Regions from separate parts of the Homo sapiens genome. Here all the other regions are linked to region 2. Evidence: promoter capture Hi-C in human tissues and cell types (Jung and others, 2019). All regions are on one chromosome and are shown on one strand. Each heading gives the region's core, a stretch centred on a gene start or on the middle of the fragment in contact. The rest is flanking DNA. Distances are from core to core; before and after follow the strand shown. Region 1 has its middle 74 kb from the start of LINC01023. Region 2 holds the start of MAN2A1 (mannosidase alpha class 2A member 1). Region 3 has its middle 110 kb from the start of FBXL17.

What was found. The method cuts DNA at HindIII sites, captures the fragments that hold promoters and counts their contacts. A contact is called where the count stands out against the background at its distance.
Region 1: a fragment that was not itself captured here is called in contact with the fragment with the promoter of MAN2A1 in region 2 in 1 of the 25 tissues and cell types used here (dorsolateral prefrontal cortex).
Region 3: a contact is called between a fragment that was not itself captured here and the fragment with the promoter of MAN2A1 in region 2, in 1 of the 25 tissues and cell types used here (lymphoblastoid cells).

The regions. Positions count from the first base shown.
Region 1 is chr5:108,652,800-108,656,370 of GRCh38, forward strand. No RefSeq gene overlaps it. Among named protein-coding and RNA genes, the nearest start is that of LINC01023, 74 kb to the right of the region's middle. The HindIII fragment of the contact is 7,306 bases long and covers 1-3,571 here.
Region 2 is chr5:109,687,193-109,691,176 of GRCh38, forward strand. MAN2A1 (mannosidase alpha class 2A member 1) reads left to right here and starts at 2,735. Exons shown (of 22, transcript NM_002372.4): 1 at 2,735-3,360. The coding sequence starts at 3,226. MAN2A1-DT (MAN2A1 divergent transcript) reads right to left here and starts at 3,907. Exons shown (of 1, transcript NR_186543.1): 1 at 609-3,907. RefSeq lists enhancers at 1,391-2,059, 1,819-1,918 and silencers at 2,029-2,318, 2,329-2,848, 2,879-3,088, 3,499-3,598. The HindIII fragment of the contact is 4,319 bases long and covers 684-3,984 here.
Region 3 is chr5:108,491,911-108,495,908 of GRCh38, forward strand. No RefSeq gene overlaps it. Among named protein-coding and RNA genes, the nearest start is that of FBXL17, 110 kb to the left of the region's middle. The HindIII fragment of the contact is 5,361 bases long and covers 1-3,998 here.

The sequences.
Region 1 (3,571 bases), core at 278-2,777, 1.0 Mb before region 2:
GTGTGAGCCACCGCGCCTGACCCATTCTACTTCTTTTAGAATATCTGAAATCAGGCCATTTCCCAAATGTTGATGATACTTTCCTGCAGACTGGCAACTAATATTGACTCAATTCATTCTGACCTCTTTATTCCCATGTTAGTCATTGATCTGTACACTCTTCACCCTCACCTAGATGTCTGCAACTTCCTACTTGAATCTACCACCTTCATTCTTTCTCTTTTTCTACTTCTCCCTGTTTGGGCCATTGTACCTCCTTCACGAAACTCCTTAACAACTTCTGATGGTTCTATAGATCAAGTTCAAAGTCTCAATTTTATGGTGTATGACTGTAGCCAGAATACCTACTGTGTGGAGTCAGACCTGAGTTTTGATACCTACCTCTGTGTCTTGAATAATATTACAGCACAGCAGAAAAGTAGCATCACAAAGTAACAAGAATCACAGACTCTGAAGCTAGATCCACTAGTTAAATCCCAGCTCTATCACCTATTGCTTGTGTGACTTAACCTATCCACATGCTTCAGTTTTCCCACCTCTAAAATGAGGGTGATAACATTACCTTGACTCATAGAGTTGTTGTAAGGAGTATCTGAAGTAAAGTGTGTAAAACTTTTGGAGTGGAGCCTGGCAGAGAGTAGATCACGCAAGCTCATATAGATGACTCTACTTCAGAGTACTCCCATGAAGATAAAGTGAGTCAAGTTATTTAAGCACCCAACTTAAATAATAATAGAATATAAATTCCACAGGGCAGATATTTTTGTGGTTTTATTTACTGGTATATAGCAAGACCTGGAACAAAACCTGGCACTATTATCAGTGGTTAACATATTTTAATTCATGTACATGTATCTATTCAAAAATAAATGTTTGTTGAATGAATGGATTGATTAATATTGTCACCAATCTCTCTCTACCAGTTACACCAGACTCTCTTTCTCTCTTCTCTTACCATGTCAGACATCCTAATATTTCAACCCACTTCCGTTCATTGCAGGCTCATTCCTTTCTCCTCAATTCTTTGTTTAAGGCTTTCCCAAGTCAATGTGAAATTCCTTCCTTTTCCTTTAAAAAACAAAACACAAAAAAACCTCCTCCAAGAATCCTTTACACATTAGTCTAAAATGAGTTGCTAATGTTCCCTGAAACCATAAGGAGATAGAAATCCTCCCTCTTCCTAATCACTTTATGCTCTTCCTGCCTATGTTGCTGTACATTATGAGCTGGCTTGTCCTGGATGGGCCACGTTTGGGAATGTCCAGCATGCCCACAGCCCTTCTCAAATGAGATTTTCCCAAAAGTTGCCTTGCTGTTACCTGTGGTCCCAAGTGAATGAATCAGGGCAGGCAATCGATCTACTGGTTAGAGACATTTTAGGTTGTTGATATATGAGCTTTTCCCAAATAGATCTCTCCCAAGGAGTTCTCAATGTAAGGCATTGGAATGAATCATTTGTTTTGGGAACAAAGCCAAATAACAGAGAAGGTAAGATACTGAGGTCATGAATAATCAGAAGCAATGAGAGATAATAAACAGAAGCAATGTGAAAGAGAGAAGGGAATAGAGAGAAGTTGGTGGGAACCAGCAGGATTAATAAAGGCAGAGATTTTAAAAAGCCTCATAGAAGCTAAATGGGACTTTGAGGATCCTTTTAAAAGAGCATAGCCTCGGTCAGCATGCGCCTTTGGCTTTAGCCTTCCTGAGAGTGGAAGTCCTACTAAGAATGGCAGTCCAAGAAGAGATAAGGAAGCTGGTTCCTGTTTACCTAAAACTGAGAAAAGTACTTTCAGGTAATATGGATTTTTCTTATTATGCTTGTATACAATTACTGTCCTTTATTTTTAAACTCTGGACTTCAGGTACACAGAATTGGATTCATCTTCATTCTTGGTTAATGGCATGCTACCATCCTTGGCCCATTCATAGCATGGTCTCATTTTATTTCTTGGTAACATAACAAACACCCACAAATTACCACATAATCCAATAATTAGAACAATAACAATGATTCAACCCTCCCATATACTCTTCCCTATTGCATGCTTTTGCTTTCCTGCCATAAATAATCATTTTCCTAAATTGGGGTTTATCATTCTCTTACTTTTCTTTTTTATTATATGTGTGTATGCTGAAATGAAATGTTGTTTAGTACACATTGCTTTTGAACTTTACTAAAGGACATCATGTTGTATGCAGTCTTCTGAGACTTGCTTTTCTTATTCAGCAGTATGTTACTTGGATTAATACAGCCTGTTGCATGTAGTTATAACTCACTCATTTTCACTGATGCTTAATTATTCAATGGTTAATTTATACATTTCCTAGTCGCTGGGCATTTCGATTGTTTCCAGTTTTTGTTGGTTGGTTGGTTTACTTATTGCTGTTACAGGGTTGCTGTAAACATTCTTGTATATAATTCCTGGTACGTGTTCCTTTGGGCATAGTCTAAGGAGTACAATTGTTGTGCCATAGGTTTATGAATTCTCAACTCTTCAACATAATACCAAATTATTTTTCAGTGTAGTTAAACCAATTAAACTCTTGACATATAAAAGATGCTGTTGATTTATATCCTCTCCAGTACTTGGAATGCCAAATCTCTTAATTTAATTAATAAAGTGGCTATAAAATAATATTTTATTGTAGTCTTTTTTAAAAGAAATGAAGTACTGATAGATGCTACAACATGCATATTTTTAACTAATTAATTTTTTTTTTTGTAGAGACAGGTTGGGGGTAGGGTCTTCCTTTGTTACCCGGGCTGGTCTCAAACTCCTGGCTTCAAGCAATCCTCCTGCCTTGGCCTCCCAAAGTGCTGGGATTACAGGCATGAGCCAACGTAGCCGGCTTGTAGTCTTTTTTTTTTTTTGTAAGTGAATATGTATTACTTGAAAAATCAGGTAGAAACAGTGTAAGTATTACTTATAAAGCCAGCTAAAAAAGCATGTGGAAACAGAAATACCTTGATTCAGAAACTCACATACATGTACATATAAAATCCAAACCTACAAGTTCCCCCACCCTTCAGATCTGGAAAAAAAAATTCTCAATGGTATTTGAGCTGAATATGGGAAAAAGCATAAACTATCTCTAGTTCCTTTTCTAAGCCACTTACTAAGACAAACATAAACTCCTAGATTTTTTTTCTGCTGCACTATAAAGCAGCCCTTCAAGTATATGCAGCCTGTGGCAGCAAGGGGGAAAGGGTCTGGATCTCAGTCCTACAATGCCTTTTAAATTCAATGTTGATTCCATGAGTTGTGTTTATGTGATATCAAAGTAACTATTTTAACTCGGGGGTAAAAAGTGTGTCTTTGGCATCACATAGACAAGAGCTCAAGTTGTTTGATCGAATTTTTCATGTTTAACCACTCAGGTTGGCATTTATAGAAAGAACCCCTCTTCTGCCAGATTACCTTGTGGTTACTTTCCTATTCCCTAGAGGAGCTGTAAATTACTCAGAGAATAAACCGGCAGGTGTTACGTAAACACTGAATACAACTAAACATTCCTTTCAAATAATGTCACATTAAAACTTGAACAAGACTCAAAGAATTTTGCAATATTC
Region 2 (3,984 bases), core at 1,485-3,984:
CTAGTAAATGGCCACATGTCGTTTTGGGGAAAGCTTGAAAGAATTTGCCATGTGTACTGTAGCCAAGGTGCAAGATCCTTCTTAAAGGGAACACAGATTCTCTTTCAACCAAGGGACTATGGGTCTGTGAATTGACTTAGGTCTGAGAACTGAGAGACTGTGACTATCCACTGTGGTGACTCAAGTCAGGTTTTGGCTACCTGACTTAGATCTTTTTACCTGTTATAAATATCAAGCAATAATCTATTTCAACTGCCTATCTATTTTGTTCTCAGAGCAGCTCCGTAAGCCAAGGCAGTCTGATTTCCTGCTGCCCTTTAAGGTACATGTGCGCCCACCTTGTCTTTGTTGGTTATGTGCTGCCTGGTTTCTGCTATTCTGAGATCGTGTCATCCCCATTGAAATCAGGGAGCCCATCTAGATAGTGGCATCCTCTATAGTCAAGGTTTTCAAGCAAGGCTAGTCTCTTTAGACACTGGAGGGCAACCTACTTCCACTGATAAGAGAAAGAGTTGGCGTGTTTAAGATTGTCGGTTTCATCTGGGTCCAACCCATTTCAAGTATTGAGATTCTATTATTAAAAAATAACACCATTTTACACGAAAAACTCAGAATATGTGTGAATTTAATAGCAGTTATAATTCAGTAACATGAAAATTAAAATTTTGTTTGATTCTCAGCATAATTCTTGTTGCTACAATAAACCAGAGCTTTTGGAATTCTGCAGAATATCTCTGGTTCTCATACCATAACTCTGAGAGTTAAAAAACCTGTGCTTGTCATTTCTCTTTATAACCACTCAAAAGCACGCAAAAGAATCCATCCCACACCAGTCTTTCTAGTCATCTTTATAACCATAGCAGTCAAGTGTAGCAGCCACTTGGGGCCCCAAGGCACAGGCTTCAGTTGGCACTTCATCAGGATCAACCACAGGTAATTGCTTAATTGAGATGCCCAGCATGTCATGAATTACATTTCCCTTTGGCAAGGAGCTAAAGCTCAAAACCTCAATCAAACTGACCTTTAATCCCATCTTTGCAGGTCTATTTCTTGGGACTACTCCCGGGACAGGGAAGGCTTAATAAAAAGAATTGTTAACTATAATAGAGGATTAGAGTAATGAAGGATTCACTAGCAAGAAGAGAACTTTAAAGAATATAGCAACAGCAGCTATAAGGAGCTAACCTTATAACTAACTCTTGGGTTGAGAGACAGAGTGCCCAATGAAGAACCTCCCCAATTCCTCCCAGGGCTAAGATCTAGACGTTTTTGGAGAGGGCATGACCTGGCTCACTGAATGGCAGAGAAGTCACCATTGGGCTACGTCTGCAAAGCTTGTGGAAGATGTGCCCTCTGCAACTTGCTGCAAATGCCTCTAGGGTGCCAGGGAAGTTATTCATGGGGTAGTGTCTCACCTCCTCTACAAAGCTCCTAGAGTTGGGCATGTGAGAGGAAATTGCTAGTTACTGAGCACTATAGGACCTTGGCAGTGGAGAAAGCCAGGTATGCTGCAAAAGCTTATCAATACACAGAAATCAGGAAGCAAAATCCTTTTTTTCTGTAATGTCTCTTCAGCGCCCTCTGCTGATAAAGCTTCAGTCCCAGAAGGCAAACGAAAAACTGTTTAAAAGGCTCAGATCCGTTTTTACAGTGCAGTCAAAAAGGGCGAATTTGGAGCTGAGAGGCAATAAATCAATAACTGGCAGAAGCATCACTTCTCAGATTACACTCATGGATTTCGTAGTCAGATGTTTCTACATGTGCCTGGACGGCCCTTTGTCAGTCTCCTTTCCCCCAGGTTTTAACAGGCTGTCACCAAAGGAGGAAATAGTGAGCCCGAAGAGAATGTGCAAGCCCTCTTCTCTTGCATTTCCTCCAGCCCGTCACCAAGTACTCTTCCAGGCACGCCAGGCCCGAGTGTCCTAGGATAGGAAACCTGAGCAACAAAGGGAAGTGGGGTGTAAGCTCAACCCCTGTTGGACGTGGGGGTGCTGGCGCCTGAACGCCCCCGAAGGCCTCAACTCCCAGAAAGCTGCCTGCCAGGTCACAAGAGCCCTGTGAGGTCTTCCTATCGCCGGGACACTGGGAGGCAGGCGCGGGGCGGGTCCGCCGGGCGACGCGCTGTGATTGGGCGCCGTGGGGCCCGCCCCCTCATCTCGGAGCGTCGGGAGGGGGCGGGGCCAGCCGCCCGCTCGGCTCAGGCGCTGCGGGCGCCTATTGACCCAGCGGCTGCTGCGCCGCCGCTGTCTCCTCCTGCTCGTGGCGGGCGGTGCTGGAGCGCCAAGTGGCGCTGGAGAACCGGCGCTTCCTTTCGCCGCTTCCGCCGCCATCTCCGCGTTTGTGGGGCGGGAAAGAGGGAGGGGGCTAGCGGCTGCAGCTGGAGCGGGCTTCTCTCCGGGGACGGTCCTTTCCTCCCTGCTCTCCTTTTCCTTCTTTCCGCGTTGCCGCCGCCCGCCCCCTGCGCCTCCCCGCGGAGCCTGGGTCCGGGAGGGGGAAGGTAGGGGCGGCGGGGGGCGGGAGAGTCTGGCGAGCGGACGCTAGCTCTGAGGAAACTCATCAATCCGTGAGCCCCGGAGTCCGGGGTGCACATCGGCCCAGCCGCAGCGTCGGCGGCGGCGGCGGCAGCAGCACGAAGGGGCTCAGTCGGGGTAGGCGGGGGCGGTGCCGGTGCCGCGGGGGCGGGCCCGACCGTCCCGCCCAGAAGTTGTAGGGCTTGGCTCCTCGCGATCTTGTTCCTTTCCCCTCCGCTTCTCTGACCTAGCTGCGCGGCCCCGGCCCGGGAGCTGCCGAACCCGCGCCTCCCCTGGGTGAGGAGGACACGCCTGCCCTCGTCGAGAAAACTTTTCCTGCCGACTCAGTTGGGGCGGCGGTGGCAGGAAGTGCGGGCAGCGACCTCTCCTCCGCCTGCCCCGCGCGCCCTGCCGGAGGTCGGCGCTGAGCTTGCGATCAAGTTTGTGGGGGCCCCCCTTCCCAGTTGCCGGCGAGTCTCGCCTCGAGAGGGGCGCCCGACCCCGGGGAGGGCGGCAGGCCAGGGCGAAGGCCAAGGGCGTGTGGTGGCGCCGGAGACTAGGTGCGGAGCAAGGCGGGGACTCGCACCCGCATCCGAGAGCGCGGAGGTCGCGCAGCCCGGGAGAAGGGAGCCTCCGGCGGCTGCTTCCTAGAGTCCACAGTGCGCTGTCTCCTTTGGCTGAGGAGAGTGTCCTGGCCCCGAGTCTATCGAGGAAAATGAAGTTAAGCCGCCAGTTCACCGTGTTCGGCAGTGCGATCTTCTGTGTGGTGATTTTCTCGCTCTACCTGATGCTGGACCGGGGTCACTTAGACTACCCCAGGAACCCGCGCCGCGAGGGCTCCTTCCCTCAGGTAAGCACCTGGGAAGGGGGCGCGGGGCTCCGAGGGGCCAGGCGTGCGGGCCCCTGGTTAGCGGCTGCTACCCAACCTCTTCCTCCCGCCGCGGCCCCACACCCGTGCTGGGCGAGGCCAGGGGCTCTGTAGCTCTCGGACGGCAATGATCACCTCCTGGGAGCCACCTCGCCCGGGCGCGCCAAGTTAACAAAGTGCTGGGCGGCGTGCGGCGGCGGCGGCGGCATCATCCCGCTCAGGAAAGTGGCCATGTTCCGGCATTCGCACCCGGCCTGTTGGGGTGGCTTCGGGCACCTGCTGGCGGGGGAACGGGCGCGGCGTGAGGCACCCCCCGCCAGCCCGGGGCCCGCGTATCCCGGTGGGGTCGTTCTCGGCTCTCACAGGGTTAAGCCGCCCGCACCAGCCCAGAGCCCCTGAGCGCACGGAGTCGCGGAAATGGATCAAACCGAACCCACCTAGGCTTTTTTTTCTTTTTCTTCCCCGCTGCCTCTGAAGAGAGAGAAGTTTATTTCGTGTTGCGGCCCTTTTAGATGTGAATCTCTAGGTTGATTTTAGTGTCGTCATTCTTCAGCTATTACATCTGGTTTGTTTGTGGCAGACAGGGGGAACCGAGTGGGGAAGCGC
Region 3 (3,998 bases), core at 1,219-3,718, 1.2 Mb before region 2:
ACTATGTGAAAAGACCAAATCTACGTCTCATTGGTGTACCTGAAAGTGACGGGAAGAATGGGACCAAGTTGGAAAACACTCCGCAGGATATTATCCAGGAGAACTTCCCCAACCTAGCAAGGCAGGCCAACATTCAAATTCAGGAAATACAGAGAATGCCACAAAGATACTCCTCGAGAAGAGCAACTCCAAGACACATAATTGTCAGATTCACCAAAGTTGAAGTGAAGGAAAAAATGTTAAAGGCAGCCAGAGAGAAAGGTTGGGTTACCCACAAAGGGAAGCCCATCAGACTAACAGCAGATCTCTCAGCAGAAACTCTACAAGCCAGAGGAGAGTGGGGGCCAATATTCAACATTCTTAAAGAAAAGAATTTTCAACCCACAATTTCATGGCCAACCAAACTAAGCTTCATAAGTGAAGGAGAAATAAAATCCTTTACAGACAAGCAAATGCTGAGAGATATCACCACCACCAGGTCTGCCCTAAAAGAGCTCATGAAGGAAGCACTAAGCATGGAAAGGAACAACCAGTACCAGCCACTGCAAAAACATGACAAATTGTAAAGACCATCAATGCTAGGAAGAAACTGCATCAACTAATGAGCAAAATAACCAGCTAACATCATAATGACAGGTTCAAATTCACACATAACAATATTAACCTTAAATGGAAATGGGCTAAATGTCCAATTAAAAGACACAGACTGGCAAATTGGATAAAGAGTCAAGACCTATCAGTGTGCTGTATTCAGGAGGCCCATCTCATATGCAGAGACAAAGATAGGCTCAAAATAAAGGGATGGAGGAAGATCTACCAAGCAAATGGAAAACAAAAAAAGGCAGGAGTTGCAATCCTAGTCTCTGATAAAAGAGACTTTAAACCAACAAAGATCAAAAGAGACAAAGAAGGCCATTACATAATGGTAAAGGGATCAATTCAACAAGAAGAGCTAACTATCCTAAACATATATGCACCCAATACAGGAGCACCCAGATGCACAAAACAAGTCCCTAGGGACCTACAAAGAGACTTAGACTCCCACACAATAATAATGGGAGACTTTAACACCCCACTGTCAACATTAGACAGATCAACAAGACAGAAAGTTAACAAGGATATCCAGGAATTGAACTCAGCTCTGCACCAAGAGGACCTGATAGACATCTACAGAACTCTCCACCCCAAATCAACAGAATATACATTCTTTTCAGCACCACATCACACTTATTCCAAAATTGACCACATAGTTGGAAGTAAAGCACTCCTCAGCAAATGTAAAAGAACAGAAATTATAACAAACTGTCTCTCAGACCACAGTGCAATCAAACTAGAACTCAGGATTAAGAAACTCACTCAAAACTGCTCAACTACATGGAAACTGAACAACCTGCCTCTGAATGACTACTGGGTACATAACAAAATGAAGGCAGAAATAAAGATGTTCTTTGAAATCAATGGGAACAAAGACACAACATACCAGAATCTCTGAGACACATTTAAAGCAGTGTGTAGAGGGAAATTTATAGTACTAAATGCCCACAAGAGAAAGCAGGAAAGATCTAAAACTGACACCCTAACATCACAATTAAAAGAACTAGAGAAACAAGAGCAAACACATTCAAAAGGTAGCAGAAGGCAAGAAACAACTAAGATCAGAGCCGAACTAAAGGAGATAGAGACACAAAAAAATCAATGAATCCAGGAGCTGGTTTTTTGAAAAGATCAACAAAATTGATAGACCGCTAGCAAGATTAATAAAGAAGAAAAGAGAGAAGAATCAAATAGACGCATTAAAAATGATAAAGGGGATATCACCACCAATCCCACAGAAATACAAACTACCATCAGAGAATACTATAAACACCTCTATGCAAATAAACTAGAAAGTCTAGAAGAAATGGAGATATTCGTGGACACATACACCCTCCCAAGACTAAACCAGGAAGAAGTTGAATCTCTGAAAAGACAAATAACAGGCTCTGAAATTGAGGCAATAATTAATAGCCTACCAATCAAAAAAAGTCCAGGATCAGATGGATTCACAGCCGAATTCTAGCAGACGTACAAGGAGGAGCTGGTACCATTCCATCTGAAACTATTCCAATCAATAGAAAAAGAGGGAATCCTCCCTAACTCATTTTATGAAGCCAGCATCATCCTGATACCAAAGCCTGACAGAGACACACACAAAAAAGAGAATTTTAGACCAATATCCCTGATGAACATTGATGCAAAAATCCTCAATAAAATCCTGGCAAACCGAATCCAGCAGCACATCAAAAGGCTTATCCACCATGAATGAGTAGGCTTCATCCCTGGGATGCAAGTCTGATTCAACATACGAAAATCAATAAACGTAATCCAGCATGTAAACAGAACCAAAGACAAAAACCACATGATTATCTCAATAGATGCAGAAAAGGCCTTTGACAAAATTCAACAGCCCTTCATGCTAAAAACTCTCAATAAATTAGGTACTGATGGGACATATCTCAAAATAATAAGAGCTATTTATGAAAAACCCACAGCCAATATCATACTGAATGGGTAAAAACTGGAAGCATTCCCTTTGAAAACGGGCACAAGACAGGGATGCCCTCTCTCACCCCTCCTATTCAACATAGTGTTGGAAGTTCTGGCCAGGGCAATCAGGCGGGAGAAAGAAATAAAGGGTATTCAGTTAGGAAAAGAGGAAGTCAAATTGTCCCTGTTTGCAGATGACATGATTGTTTATTTAGAAAACCCCACCATTTCAGCCCAAAATCTCCTTAAGCTGATAGGCAGCTTCAGCAAAGTCTCAGGATACAAAATCAATGTGCAAAAATCACAAGCATTCTTATACACCAATAACAGACAAACAGAGAGCCAAATCATGAGTGAACTCCCATTCACAGTTGCTTCAAAGAGAATAAAATACCTAGGAATCCAACTTGCAAGGGATGTGAAGGACCTCTTCAAGGAGAACTACAAACCACTGCTCAATGAAATAAAAGAGGACACAAACAAATGGAAGAACATTCCATACTCATGGATAGGAAGAATCAACATTGTGAAAATTGCCATACTGCCCAAGGTAATTTATAGATTCAATGCCATCCCCATCAAGCTACCAATGACTTTCTTCACAGAATTGGAAAAAGCTACTTTAAAGTTCATATGAAACCAAAAAAGAGCCCACATCGCCAAGACAATCCTAAGCCAAAAGAACAAAGCTGGAGGCATCACACTACCTGACTTCAAACTATACTACAAGGCTATAGTAATGAAAACAGCATGGTACTGGTACCAAAACAGAGATATAGACAAATGGAACAGAACAGAGCCCTCAGAAGTAATACCACACATCTACAACCATCTGATCTTTGCCAAACCTGAGAAAAACAAGCAGTGGGGAAAGGATTCCCTATTTAATAAATGGTGCTGGGAAAACTGGCTAGCCATATGTAGAAAGCTGAAACTGGATCCCTTCCTTATACCTTATACAAAAATTAATTCAAGATGGATTAAAGACTTAAATGTTAAACTAAAACCATAAAAACCCTAGAAGAAAACCAGGCAATACCATTCAGGACATAGGCATGGGCAAGGACTTCACATCTAAAACACCAAAAGCAATGGTAACAAAAGCCAAAATTGACAAATGGGATCTAATTAAACTAAAGAGCTTCTGCACAGCAAAAGAAACTACCATCAGAGTGAACAGGCAGCCTGCAGAACGGGAGAAAATTTTTGCAATCTACTCATCTGAAAAAGGGCTACTATCCAGAATCTACAAAGAACTTAAACAAATTTACAAGAAAAAAACAAACAACCCCATCAACAGGTGGGCGAAGGATATGAACAGACACTTCTCAAAAGAAGACATTTATGCAGCCAAAAGACACATGGAAAAATGCTCATCATCACTGGCCATCAGAGAAATGCAAATCAAAACCAGAGTGAGATACCATCTCACACCAGTTAGAATGGCGATCATTAAAAAGTCAGGAAACAAC